Regions from separate parts of the Homo sapiens genome. Here region 2 is linked to region 1. The links are contacts of gene promoters, found by promoter capture Hi-C in human tissues and cell types (Jung and others, 2019). All regions are on one chromosome and are shown on one strand. Each heading gives the region's core, a stretch centred on a gene start or on the middle of the fragment in contact. The rest is flanking DNA. Distances are from core to core; before and after follow the strand shown.

Region 1 (3,086 bases), core at 556-3,055:
GTGGCTGACAAAGTGGAGACTCAGGCCTCAGAGAGGGAGTCTTTGGTCTTCTCTAAACACATTTTAAAATTCATTAGAGGAATATCATTCATATATTTTGGAAAGTTAATTTGTACTCCATGTGCAGACTGCATTAGAAGGACAGACCTCTTCACAGAGCCAAGTCACAAGACACCTGGACACGGGGTAGTACCCCAGCAGGCAGGTGGGGGTGGGGGACCAGATGCAGCAGGACAAAGGACAAAACAGAGCCTGGTTCGGACTTCCCCAGGAAGGACTCTGCACTCAGCTGCCTTCCAGCCTCTTCTGAATTCCACCAACCCTTCCTTAGGACTTCCTGCCTTGTTTTTTGCTTAATTCACTTTTTGCCAGACTAGACGTTTCCTAGGCTTAGGCAAACACATCATTATCACATGTATTAAAATGCTCCCATAGCCTACATTAATAACTGATTAATAACTGCATCTTGCTGTGAATTTTTATGATCTTGACTTTCAGGTTTTGTATGAATAATTCATTTTGTTCATGTGATTTAGACTTTATTATATTTATATATAATTATGCAAGAGTTTTGTTGCAGTTGCCTAGATTCTGCAGACATTTCATTAAATTTTATTTACTTTGATTTTTCCAGTTTCCTTTCGTTATTTTGGGGCCACTGTTTTTCAGTCTCCAACGTTTTCATAAGCCCTAGGGGATATGACAGCGCTACAGGAATCCAGCCTTATATTCTTAAGAACCTCTCATAGCCCTTCACGTAGGGAGCTCTGATGAATGAATGAAGGAGCGACTGAACGAGTGAATGAATGAGGTGAATAAAGTTTCTTCCAAGTTTTCTCTCCAAGGTCGGTTCTCTTCTCATTCTTCTGGAATCTCAGCCTTGCCTGGAGGCTGGGCAGGAGAGCCTCTCACCCCGCTAACACCAAAACTGCGACCTTGGAGGACCGTGTCCTGCGCCTGGCGCTCGGCCGATCCCGGCAGAGTCCGCCTGGGGCCGGGGTCGGGACAGTGGCCGCAGCGTGGAGCGCAGCCGGGTCCCGGGCCAAACCCTGTGCGCATGGGCGGAGCAGCGCCCTCCCCCGCGTTCCTTCCCCCACTGCAGGTGAGTCGCAGCGCCGCGGCCCCAACCCCGCGCAGCCCCGGGGGTGACGTCAGGACTCTGGACCGCGCTCCGCCCCGCCCCTGCAGGCAACGCTGAGGGCCCGCGACTCCGCGGTGGAACCCCGTCCCGCTGCGGTACATGCCGGCTGCCGCAAGCACAGGGGGCGACCGGGCGCTCGAATGTGCTGCGGCTGCGGCGGCTGCCTGACGCTAGGACGAGGAGTCTGCAGTCAGAGCGCCAGCCTCCTGCCGCGGCCCACCTGCCCCGCGGCCCGCACAGCCAATGTCAGCGCAGCGCGCCGGCCGCCGCGGGGCCCGCACCCGCAGCCTCGCGGGATCGCCGGGCGTTCAGCCAGCCTCAGCTGTCCATCTACGCACGAGCCAGCCAATCCCGCGCCACTGCCCCGGCCGCACCTCCCGGAGCCTATGACGGGCGTAAGAGCCAGCCCATGAGATTGGGGCCTCTGTGGCCTGGGCTGGGAGCGGGAGCCAATGAGCGTCATTCCAGGTGGGTGGAGGGAGCCGGACTCGGGAAGGTAGCTTCGTTCGGGTTGCTAACGTCTTCCCTTGGAGATGGGCGCGCAAACCAACCAGTGGGTCTGGGGGCGGCGGTGATGGGCGTGGAGCTGGCCCAATGAGGGTAGGGGTGGGTGGGGCAGCCCCGAGCAGCAGTGCTAAAGGAGCCCGGCGGAGGCAGCGGTGGGTTTGGGACTGAGGCGCTGGATCTGTGGTCGCGGCTGGGGACGTGCGCCCGCGCCACCATCTTCGGCTGAAGGTGAGAGGTGCGGCTACCCGGGTCCGAGTGCACGGCCCAGGGCTGGGGGACAGTTTGTGGAGGGAGGAATGGCTCCTGGGCTGAGGGGTCCCGGGCGGCTCTGGAGGACAGGAACGGGGGACCGAAGCGGGAGCTGGGGAAGACAGAGGGGCTTCTGAGCTGTAGGGTTTGTGCTGCGGGGACCTTAGGTTAGTTTGAGCAGGGTCCTGGGCTGGGGGCACTGGGACCTCAGTGGGTGGAGATGGAGAGACTCCCGGAGGAGCGGGGAATGAAGTCCTTGTGAAACCCGCGGGGGTCAGGGCCTGGGTGTGCAGGAGGGCGACCCCTGGGGGGCTGGGGGATGGAGATCTGGGGGTGGGGACGTGAGGACCAGGTTCTCGGTGGGTGGGATCCCTGGGGGCGCGAGGTCGAGGGGCTAGTGTCCCGGCGGAGGTCTCGGCGTGCCCCGCGAGCCAGTGTCTGCCTCCCAGGAAGAGAGGGGATTCTAAGCGGGGCTGGAAAGCGCAGTCCCGGCGGTAGGGTGGGGGGGCGCTGGGCAGGAAGGGCCCCTGCGTGGGTTGCTGGGTGGGTTAGGCCTGGCGCGACCGGTCCCCCGCAGCACCAGAGGGGTTCACCATGGGCTTGGAAGGCGGGCGGCGCGCGCCCGACCCGTGGGTGGAGGGACAGGAGGGCATTGGCTCTGCGCGGCCGGGGAAGCGCGCGGCGGGTGAGGGGCTCCGGAGCCGGCCGCGGGCGTGGGGAGGGTCGGACTCCGCCGGCGCCGGGGAAGGAGCGCGGGAGGAGGGCGTCCTGCCGCGCCCTCCGTGGAGCGCCTAGGCCGGGGGTGGACGCCCTGCGAGGCCCAGGCGGTTTGAGGGGGCGAGGCGGGAAATGTGGCGGGGCGCGCTGCAGCAGGACGGCCGGGGGGAGGGTCAGCACTCGCCTCGGGATCCCTTTATTGTGTAAGCGAGCTGGGAATGGCTCGCCGCAGTCTCTTCATTGCCTTCTGCAGTTGGGGGTCACACCCTGATCCCATAAAATCGGACTGGAATTGGTTCGGAGGGAAGTTGAAGCCGCGGAGTCCTGGCATTTGTGGGGGCTTTGTGGGCCTGTGGTGGGCGGATGCGGCCCTGGGAAGCGGGAGGCCCCCAGCCAGGCCTGTTTGGAACTAGGGCCTTAGGAAGGAGGTTGGCGACTCGGCGGGTCAGACCGGGCTGGTGAGGTTTGGATA
Region 2 (2,865 bases), core at 5-2,504, 150 kb before region 1:
TAAATAAACATTTCATCTGCAAATAATCAATTTTGCCTTTACCCTGCTAGCACTTGACCCTCTTGTTGTTATTGGTGGTGGCAGTGGTGGTGGTTTTCATGGTCTTGGTGTGTTAGCAAGGAATTCCAATGCCATGTTGAATAGTAGTGGTAGAGTAACCATTTTTGTGTTCTCAACCTTAAAAAGAATCTGTCTAAAGTCTTTGTCTGTTTGTTTGTGTATTTGATTTTTAGAGACAGGGTCTCACTCTGTTGCCTAGGCAGGAGTGCAATGACATGATCATAGCTCATGGCGTCTTGAACTCCCAAGCTCAAGTGATCCTCCCACCCGAGTCTTCCAAGTAGCTGGAACTATAGGTGCCACCATGACCAGCTAATGTTTTTATTGTTTAATTTTTGTAGAAATTCCTGGCATCAAGCAATCCTCCTGCCTCAGCCTCCCAAAGTGCTCGGATTAAAAGCACCATGCCAGGCTACATCTAAAGCTTCAGTATGATGTTTGCTGAAGGCTTTATTAAATTAAAGAAGTTCCTTTTTATTCCTGGTTTTTCATAACACTCATCATAAACTTTATTAAGCATTTACTGGATCTATTAAGATCATGTGGTTTTCTTCCTTCTCTAGTTTATTCCTGTGGTGATTGTATATTAATATACTTTCTGATTTTTTTTTTTTTTTTGAGACAGAGTTTTGCTCTTGTTGCCCAGGCTGGAGTACAATGGCACGATCTCGGCTCACTGCAACCTCTGCCTCCCAGGTTCAAGCAATTCTCCTGCCTCAGCCTCTCAAGTAGCTGGGATTACAGGCGCGCACCACCATGCCCGGCTAATTTTTTGCATTTTTAGTAGAAATGAGGATTCACCATGTTAGCCAGGCTGGTCTCAAACTCCTGACCCCAGGTGATCCACCCGCCTCAGCCTCCCAAAGTGCTGGGATTACAGGCGTGAGCCACCATGCCTGGCCTACTTTCTGATTTTTAAGTAAACATGAATTATTAGCTAACTCTAACTTGATCCTCATAAATTAGGATTTAAAAAATACACCGTTGGATTGGGGTAGCCAATATTTTATTTAAAATTTTTTGCATTAATATTCACTCTGTTTTCTTTTCTTTCACTTTCCTTAACCTGTTTTCTCATTATGATTATACTAGCCTCATAAAATAAATCAAGCAGCTTTCCCTCCTTTTTCTATTTTCTATTTTATGGAACAACTTGTATAACATAAGGCTTCTCTGTTCAACATATGGTAAAACTTGGTGCCTGGAGTTCAGTAGAGCCACTTTTCTTGTATTCAAGAAAACTTTATATACAAATGTTTATGTAATTTTCTATTTCTTCGTATGACATTTTACATTTTCTGGAAATTTATCCTTTTCTACCCAAGTTTTCAAATGTATTAGTGTATAGTTCTTGAGACTGTTGCTTGCCTACCTAATATCCATTTCCCCTCTTCTTTACCCACATTATGTCCCTGGCAGCAATTGTGTTCAAGTAAAATGTTCACCTTACCAGACTCTGCACCTTAAAATGTTCACCTTATCAGAAATTCTGCGAAGGATGTCTGGTAAAGATTTCTGCTTTCCAGATGTAGCCTCTACCTCCTCCTCTTCCCTTTCCTTAGAGGAGAAACAGCCATCTTGCAACCATGAGGTGAAAAGCATGAGCAAGAAAGTGCTATACTCAGTTGAACACAGTCCTTTTTGCTTAGTTACTCTTATCAGAGGTTTGTGTTTACTGTTCTCCCCCCAACCCCCCAGAAAAAAGGCTAGTTTTGGTTTAGCTAATTTCATCCATTGTCTTTGCTCTCTCTTTTTATTTCTTCCATGATCCTTATTAGTTCCTTCATTCTCATTTCTGTGGGTTCACTCCATTGCTCTTTTTTTTAACTTCTTGAGTTACACACTTACCTTTTTGTTCTGAGTATTTTTTATTTTCTAATAAGCATAGTCATAAATTTTAAATTCTTTTATGTACTGCTTTAGTATAAATGTTGACATTGTGATTCAGCACACACTTTGACATTATAATTTGGTTCTAAGTATTTCATAATTTCCCTTGTCATTTCCTCTTTAGCCCAAAGTTAATATTAATTCTTCCCAGAAATGTGATATTTTTAAGTGCCCGTTTTATAATGAATTCTAACTTTACTTCACTATAATTGGAGGATGTAATTTCCTCATAATTCATTTTTTGTAATTGATGGATATTTCCTTTGTTAAGTATAAAAGCATATGTTTGTGTGTGTATGTTTTAGTTCAAAATTATTAAATATATTATTCAAATATTCTATCTTGCTTATCTTTGGCCTTCTTGATTCATATTCTGAAAGAGCTGTGCTAAAATCTCTGCATATAATTGTTCATATATCTATTTCCCCAGTATACATTTTGAGGCTACATTGTTGGATGCATATGTGTTTATGATTGTTATTTCTTCTTGATTTATTATCCCTTGTTAGTATATAACATCTCTATTTGTCCTGTATGTTATTTTTGCCCTAAATTAATTTTTCTTCTGATGTTAAAATTGCTACCTTGGAGTTCTTTCTTTTTTTAATGTGCCTAGATTTTTTTAACCTTTTACTTTCCAACTTTGCATAAATTATCTTTTGCTAACAGTATTTTATTGGATTTTGTTTTTATATTCAATCAGAGTCTCTTTATTTTGATTTCTGGGTTGAATTAACCTATATTTATGTTAATTAATGTTATCTTGGAACTTATTTCTGCTGTCTCGTTTTGTGTTTTCTATTTACTGTACTTTCTTTTTACTGCTTTCCATCCTCTTTGGGATAATTCAAAATTGTTTTCTTCCATTGAAATGTTTGGATTTTATACTTTCCATTGACTATGTTAAATTTGTTT

Evidence for each region. Contacts are between HindIII fragments. The study calls those that stand out against the background at their distance.
Region 2: a fragment that was not itself captured here is called in contact with the fragment with the promoter of MYH10 in region 1 in 1 of the 25 tissues and cell types used here (aorta).

What each region holds. Positions count from the first base shown.
Region 1 is chr17:8,629,444-8,632,529 of GRCh38, reverse strand. MYH10 (myosin heavy chain 10) reads left to right here and starts at 1,805. Exons shown (of 43, transcript NM_001256012.3): 1 at 1,805-1,876. RefSeq lists enhancers at 105-399, 1,098-1,875, 1,876-2,653, 2,654-3,086 and a silencer at 934-1,613. The HindIII fragment of the contact is 16,199 bases long and covers 1-3,086 here.
Region 2 is chr17:8,777,525-8,780,389 of GRCh38, reverse strand. No RefSeq gene overlaps it. Among named protein-coding and RNA genes, the nearest start is that of MFSD6L, 20 kb to the left of the region's middle. The HindIII fragment of the contact is 3,441 bases long and covers 1-2,865 here.